Linked DNA regions of Homo sapiens: region 1 is linked to region 2. The links are contacts of gene promoters, found by promoter capture Hi-C in human tissues and cell types (Jung and others, 2019). All regions are on one chromosome and are shown on one strand. Each heading gives the region's core, a stretch centred on a gene start or on the middle of the fragment in contact. The rest is flanking DNA. Distances are from core to core; before and after follow the strand shown.

Evidence for each region. The method cuts DNA at HindIII sites, captures the fragments that hold promoters and counts their contacts. A contact is called where the count stands out against the background at its distance.
Region 1: a fragment that was not itself captured here is called in contact with the fragment with the promoter of TRAM2 in region 2 in 2 of the 25 tissues and cell types used here (H1 embryonic stem cells and adrenal gland).

Annotation. Positions count from the first base shown.
Region 1 is chr6:52,439,149-52,443,039 of GRCh38, reverse strand. The region is part of intron 3 of EFHC1 (EF-hand domain containing 1); the gene reads right to left. Among named protein-coding and RNA genes, the nearest start is that of EFHC1, 21 kb to the right of the region's middle. The HindIII fragment of the contact is 6,132 bases long and covers 1-3,891 here.
Region 2 is chr6:52,574,033-52,578,309 of GRCh38, reverse strand. It overlaps TRAM2 (translocation associated membrane protein 2), which reads left to right and starts at 1,250. Exons shown (of 11, transcript NM_012288.4): 1 at 1,250-1,514. The coding sequence starts at 1,395. It overlaps TRAM2-AS1 (TRAM2 antisense RNA 1), which reads right to left and starts at 1,108. Exons shown (of 3, transcript NR_103446.1): 1 at 1-1,108. RefSeq lists silencers at 678-1,537, 3,395-3,444 and an enhancer at 3,795-3,844. The HindIII fragment of the contact is 6,429 bases long and covers 1-4,277 here.

The DNA.
Region 1 (3,891 bases), core at 1,282-3,781, 140 kb after region 2:
CACTGGCCATCAGAGAAATGCAAATCAAAACCACACATCTCATGCCAGTTAGCATGGAGATCATTAAAAAGTCAGGAAACAACAGGTGCTGGAGAGGATGTGGAGAAATAGGAATGCTTTTACACTGTTGGTGGGAATGTAAACTAATTCAACCATTGTGGAAGACAGTGTGGTGATTCCTCAAGGATCCAGAACAAGAAATACCATATGACCCAGCCATCCCATTACTGGGCATATACCCAAAGGATTATAAATCATGCTGCTATAAAGTCACATGCACACATATGTTTATTGCGGCACTATTCACAATAGCAAAGACTTGGAACCAACCCAAATGTCCAACAATGATAGACTGGATTAAGAAAATGTGGCACATATACACCATGGAATACTATGCAGCCATAAAAAATGATGAGCTCATGTCCTTTGTAGGGACATGGATGAAGCTGGAAACCATCATTCTGAGCAAACTATCGCAAGGACAGAAAACCAAACACTGCATATTCTCACTCATAGGTGGGAATTGAACAATGAGAACACTTGGACACAGGGTGGGGAACATCACATACTGGGGCCTGTCATAGGGTGGGGGGTGTGGGGAGGGATACCACTAGGAGATATACCTAATTGAATGACAAATTAATGGGTACAGCACACCAACATGGCACATGTATACATATGCAACAAACCTGCACGTTGTGCGCATGTACCCCATAACTTAAAGTATAATAATAAAATAAATAAATAAATAAACTAGGTATTAAAGGAACACACCTCAAAATAATCAGAGCCATCTATGAAAAACCCACAGCCAACATTATATTGAACAGGGAAAAGCTGGAAGCATTCCTCTTGAAAACTGACACAAGAAAAGGATGCCCTCTTCCACAACTTCTATCCAAGACAATATTGGAAGTCTTGGCCAGAACAATCAGTCAAGAGAAAGAAATGAAGGACATCCAAGTAGGAAGAGAGAAAGTCAAACTATCCCTGTTTGGAGAAAACATGATTCTATATCTAGAAAACTCCAGAGCCTCATCCCAAAAACTCCTTAAGTTAATAAACAACTTCGGCAAAATTTTAGGACACAAAATCAACATACAAAAATCACTAGCACTCCTATACACCAACAACAGCCAAGCTGAGAGTAAAATCAGGAACACAATCCCATTTACAACTGTCACAAAAAGAATAAGATACCTAGGAATACAGCTAACCAGGGAGATGAAAGATCTCTACAATGAGAATTACAAAACACTGCTTAAGGAAATCAGAGATAACACAAGCAAATGAAAAAACATTACATGCTCATGGATACGAAAAATCAATATCTTTACAGTCACCATACTGCCCAAAGCAATGTACAGATTCAATGCTATTCCTATCAAATTGCCAGTGACACTCTTCACAGAACTAGAAAAAAATACTTTAAAATTCAATGGTACCCAAAAAGAGCCTGAATAGTCAAGGCAATTCTAAGCAAAAGAACAAAGCTGGAGGCATCATGTTACCTGCCTTCAAACTATACTACAGGGCTACAGTAACCAAAACAGTACAGTACTGGTACAAAAACAGACACATAGACCAATGGAATAGAATAGGGAGCTCAGAAATAAGGCTACACACCTATAATTATGTGATCTTCAACAAAGTTGACAAAAATAAGCAATGGGGAAAGGTGCTGGGATAACCTGCTAGCCATATGCTAGCCATATATCTTACACCAGATATAAAAATCAACTCAAGATAGATAAAAGACTTAAATGTAAAACCCAAAACTATAAACACCCTGGAAGACAACCAAGGCAACACTATTCTAAACATAGGAATGGGCAAAGATTTCATGACAAAGACACCAAAAGCAATCACAACAAAAGCAAAAATTGACAAATGGTATCTAATTAAACGTAAGAGCTTCCGCAGAGCAAAAGAAAGCATCAACAGAGTAAAAAGACTATCTAAAGAATGGGAAAGAAATATTTGCAAACTATGCATCTGACAAAGGTCCAATATGCACCATCTATAAGAAACTTTAATTTACAAGAAAAAAAGCAAAGAACCCCATTAAAAAGTGGGCAAAGGACATGAACAGACACTTCTCAAAAGAAGACATACACATGGCCAATAACCATATGAAAAAAAAGCTCAACATCACTATCATTAGAGAAATGCAAATCAAAACCACAATGAAATATCATCTCACACCAGTCAGAATGGCTATTATTAAAAAGTAAAAAAATAACAGGTGCTGTCAAGGTTGTGGAGAAAAAGAAATGTTTATACACTGGTGATGAGAGTATAAATTAGTTCAACCATTGTAGAAAGCAGTGTAGTGATTCCTAAAAGACCTGAAAACAGAACTACCATTTGACCTAGGAATCTCATTATTGGGTATATACCCAAAGGAATATAAATCATTCTGCCATAAAGACATACCCGCAAGTATGTTCATCGCAGCACTATTCATAATAGCAAAGACATGGAATCAACCTGAATGCCCATCAATGGTAAACTGGAAAAAGAAAATGTGATACATATACACATACATATACATATACATGAAGGTGCCAGATTTTTTGCATTTTTGTGTTTTTTGTTGGTGATTTTGCTGTTTAAAGGGTCCCAGTGCCTAGTGATGAAGTGCTATTTAGTGTTCCTAAGCACAAGAAGGCTGTAACACACCTCATGGAGAAAATGCATGTCTTAGATAAGCTTTGTTCAGACGTGAGTTATAGTGCTGTTGGGTGTGAGTTTAATGTTAATGAATCAACCGTATATATTAAATAAGGTGTCTTTAAACAGAAACATACATGAATCAAACTTATGTATTGATCAGTTGACAAAAATGTGGCCAGAGATTAGTGGGAACCTAACCCTGTATTTCCTCTAAGACTAGTGGTTCAGTATTCACTAATTCAGTGTTTGTGGTGACTTTATAGTCCTAATTACTGTCAATAATGAGAACCGACTATAAATAGATTAGGTCAAACGCTCAGTGATTAACTTGCAAATGTTCAAATTGCCCATAAAAACACAACTGTAAAAATAATTGTTATGAAAACACAACTGTAAAAATAATTGTTAATACATTTATGTTTAGATAACATTTTATCATTTCTCACTGTTGGTACAATTGTGAAACTGCCTATGATATATAAGACCTCAGACACCTAAAAAGCAAAGAGATAAAAATATGTTGGAACGGGAGAATATCTCAAAGATGGTCTAGCACCTCTACTTTTGAAGCTATTTTTCTCTATTGCTTTGGAATGGCACTGATGCCATGGCTCCTTTCTTTACTTCCTTCAGGCCTCTATTCATATGTCATCTTATCACTGAGGCATTCTCTGATCCGCCTCTATAAAGAGCCCCTCAACTTCCATTCCCTTTACTCAGCTTTATTTTCCTCCATTGCTGTTATCATCATCTGACATATAACCAATCTATTTATTTGCTATTGCTTATCTCCTCCAACAAGATTGGAACCTCTATAGGGGCAAGTACCTATAACATGCAAGGAAAGGAGAAATGGTGCACTATTAGCTTGTCATAGTCATCTGAAAAATATCAAGTACCTTCCTGAAAACATCTGGCACCTAGAACAGTGCATGGAACAAAGCAGGCATGCAAATAAATATCTGTTAAACAAACTACTAAATGAAAACAATAATGGATTCATAGGAGCTCAGTGCATGGTAAAAATTAGTCACATATGGCACTAGGTATCCTGGAATAGGGACATAAAATACTTCAGAAACTATATCTTTGCTGCTAGAAATATTTTTTTAACTAAGACAAATTTGGAATTGACTTCCTAATTCCTACACTTTGTAGTAAAGAAAGGCCACCTATATCCTCTATGCATGTAACTTTAATAAAAGTTTCCTTTGT
Region 2 (4,277 bases), core at 1-2,500:
GTTCCTCACAAGACGAAGGTTCAACTTTGAGAAAGGTCAGCCTTGAAGTTAAATGAGGTTTAGTCCAATCTAGGCATTACTTTGTCATTTCCTTGAGAGTCAGATAAGGGAATTACAGACCCAAGACTGTATTTTAAGTAAGGTGGAGTGCAGATTGAGGAAGTAAAATTTCTCTAGGAACTCCATCCTGTCTCAATTACATTCCACCGCGTGCCACTTTTAAAAAACCATATTTATTTAGAAGTGAAATAACTGTGGACCTAATAAAAAATGGAATAGGAATTAGTTTTTTTTGTTCATTACGTATTTCTGCACATCTAGAAAGTAACTGACTGCTTCATTACTGGTAGGATTAAATCCAATATTTGCGAATATAATTTATTAAGAACACCTTTTGTCCTTCCAGGAGTACTTTTAAGACTTAATATTAAATAGAAACTTTCAGTGAGAAAGTTCCTTCCTTTTTTGCTTCTTCTGTGTTTATTCTTCCACTTCTTCTGATTAATATGTAAGGTAGACTTTCGGTGAAATGTGTGTAGCTAATTAATGGTGGCATGAGGGTCCCAAAAATTACTGGGCAAAACTGCAATCATCCACCCTCTCCCCGCATTGGAGCGAAAGCTCCCCTAGGGCAGGGTCTTTCGGTTTGTTGATCTACCTGAACTGTGCCTAGCCCACTGCAAGTTCTCGATAAATACTTGAGTAATCTCCATTCACTGATCGTCCGTGCAGGGCGCTGTGGCCAGCCAGAAGGCCGGTTCGCGGCTTCCCTGCTTCCGCCGCACCCGCGCCGCCCTCAGCCCCCGGGGCCACAGCCCGCAACCCCGGGAGCATCCGGCTGCCCGGCCACCCCCGGGGCGCTCGCTGCCTCCGGGGCCTGCCCTTCCCGCGGAGGAAGGAGCGGAGCGAGGAGTGGGAAAGCTGGGCCCACTTCCTGTCCGGGCAGGCCTGGGCGCCCGCCTCCTCCGCGGCCTGCTTTCTCCACCGCGAGCGGCTGAGCCTCGGGCCCCGAGAATGCGGCCGGGCGCGGCGCTGGCGCGGGACGAGGAGGAGCCGAGCCCCGCTCGCCGCCCCCGTACGCCTCCGCCCCGGTAGCCCGCGCGTGCCCAGCGGCTAGAGGGTTAAGCCCGCGGGGGGCGGGGCCAGGCGCGCCGAGTGCGGGCCGCGGGCTGGGCGGGGGCTGGGCGGGGGCTGCGGCCGGGGGCGGTTACGGGCGGCCGGGGGCGGGCGGAGGAAGGGGGCGGGCCCCGAAGTTGTTCCGCGCTGGGCGGGCGAGCGGCTGTGGGAGAGCGGGCGGCGGGCCGGCGGGCGGACCGGGCCGGTGCTGGAGAAGTTTGCGCTGCGGTTCGTGAGCGCAGGGTGCGGGCCCCGCCGGCCGCTGCGCGCCCGCTGCCATGGCTTTCCGCAGGAGGACGAAAAGTTACCCGCTCTTCAGCCAGGAGTTCGTCATCCACAACCATGCGGACATCGGCTTCTGCCTGGTGCTCTGCGTCCTCATCGGGCTTATGTTCGAGGTGAGAGCCTGGGGAGGAGGGAGCTGGAGGGACAGTGCCCCCTGTCGTGCACCGCCCGGCACACCCCTGCAGGTCAGCGGGCCCTCCTCTGATCGGAGGCTCCTGGCTGCCGTGTACGTTATCTGCACCCCGGCTTTGTGCACTGTACCCCTCCGGCCTGTACCCCGGCCAGCCCAGACAGCACCCCCAGCTCCGCGCCGTGCCAGCCATGCCATGCTCTGCCGCCCCCTTGGGCACTCATCGTATCCTGCAGCTCTGTCTGCAGCCCTGAAACCCCAGCCTGGCCTCGAACCAACCGCCGCGCTGCCACCATGGCTTGACGCGTGGGGTTCCCTTTCTGGCGTCCAGGAGCCAAGCCCAGAGACTCCCAGACCCGCAGTCATTGCACAACCCCCTCTTGCCCCAAGGGGTGGCCACTAGCTCTTCTGGGCTTTTCCAGTGGGAGAGACCCAGAACCTTTTCCACTTCCTATGTGATTTTCTGGGTGTTTTGCATCTCAGCTCTGGAACGTGCTCGGATGTTCACGTGTGGCCCTGGCCCCATCCCAGCAGTGGCCTTCTGCTCTCGTCTCGCTCCCACTTTTTTGCTGTGCTCTAGAAGGCCAATTTTTGGATATCCTTTACCACTCCGTGAACTGTCCCTTTAGATCCATCTGCGGCGACCCAGAGCTTCACCCCCTTTACAGAGACAAGAAGAGAGACAGGGATACCCTCCACTTTTTGGGGAAAGTTGATTCTCTTATAGTGTAGGAGTGGGGGGCAGAGGATGGGGATCCCACCCCCAACAGCAATGTCCTGGTGTCGGCCTCCCAGGCAGGGAGTTGTAGAAAGCCAGCAAGGGGTCAGAATTCACAAGACTGATGGGAAGGATTCCCTACTCTTGCAGAGCAAGAAAAATGTGATATTCAAAAGTGGGAAGAACTGGAGGAAGCTTGGCATGGGTTTGTTGCGGTATATCTTGTCTCAGAAGTGAGATATGTGAGCGACATTCCCCTCACTCTCACCGTGGTCTCCTCTGGTTCCTGAGACTCCTTGTCCTCCCTTCTGCGTCAGCTTGCTTATTGCATTCTCACGGTTGGGTTAGGAAGCTGTGATCATTTACAAACTTCCTTGGAGATGGAGGATGGCTTGCCTGGCTAAATTTCCTTCCCTGTCCCTCTGTCTCGGGTTCCCTGTATCTCTACGAATGACAAGGGCCCTAATTGGCTGGCGAAGCTGCCCTCAAGCTGGGAACGTTCTTGTGGTGGCCAAGTCAGGGTTGGATGAATGAATGTGTCCGTGGCTGAGCTTTAGGGTCTGTAGGAAATAAACGGTGGTGCTAGGACTGGGGTCTCCACTCCACTTTTTGATAGTGCTCCTTTAGTTCAGTCCCTCTCTCCTTCCTCTCCCTCTCACAGCTCTCTCTAGTGGTATATTGGGTCGGGCTTGCTCCACCTTGTTCTGGGTTCTCCCCTGGAAGTGTGTGGTGTCACACAGAGTCATATCCGTGTGTCTCAGTCCCTGTTCTGTGACTAGTCTGACTGAAAACTGACTGCAGCCTCAGTTTCCCCATCATTAAAGACGTTCATAAAACTGGTCTTCGTCACAGGGTGGTTGTAAGGTTTAACTGAGATCATATCAGCAACAAAAGCCATAACATCTCCTACCAACATGAAAAAGTCTCTTGCGCCTGGAGCCCTGTGATTATTTATCATAATAATAGCTTAACAAAATAACAGAATTTCCTTTGCCCAGCGCATTCTCTGCTGTCTGTTTGCTGTCCTCCATTCTAAGAGGCCTCCAAGTGCGTGTCCCCAGCCTTGGAGGGTGTGGCTGGAAAGATACACGTGACAGCTGTAAACCTCAAAGCCACAGGCTGCAGCGACGAAGTTTCTCGCATAGCCTGTGGCTCTCTCCGTCATATTTCTAGCATTTGTTAGGGTTTGTGGCCCTCCCTGTTTTATCTTTGCTCAGAAAGGGCTGCCAGCATTTGAGTTTGGTACCTACCTCCTTCCCTGGGTCTCTAGTCTTATGGAAAGTCCTGTGCATTAAACCTGCCACTCTAAAAGTTGAAAGGTGTTAAGAGCTGTTACTTCCAGTATCTGGTGAAAGAGAAAGGCCCAAGACGAGAAAAACAACAAACAAAACTACTCTTCCTCCCCCTTAGGCTTGTATTGGGGAGTGTAGCAAGGCCCCTGGTTGAAATGCCTACAGGCCCCCTTTTCCTGCCAAGCCCATCACTTCTTCCCATAGCACCTTGAACCTACAGGACCTACAGGGCAGGTGTCTCCTTCTTTTGGAGGTACTTTGTGAGATCATCAGTCTGTGCTTCTCTGGGAGAAAGAGGGCTTTGCCCTAAGCCTCCAGTAAGAAGGTCTTGTGTTCTTCTGTGCTGGGCACATGGTGGGGGCCTCACTGTCTTTACCCACCGACTAACTAACTCTCCACAGAGATAAGTATTCCTGGGGGTGGGGAGGGGGAGTTTGGAACTGCTGCCTCTATCAAATGAGAGCAGAAGCGTCCTGGATACTGTAGGTACCACAGAGAAACAAATGTGGGCATCTTCACACTCAGAGTAAAGCCTGGGGAGACGCCTCATAACCAAGCACAGGACTGGCTGGATATCACTTAGGATCTTCTGGGTTTCTCTCTGGAAGTGTGTGGTGTGCATGTGTGGGTATGTAGGGATGCATATGGTGCGATGGTAGGTGCAACTGGGGACTCACCACCCTTTTCCTAGAAGTGACGGCAGGAAGAGGTGCAAGGGGAATGGGAGAAAGGGGTG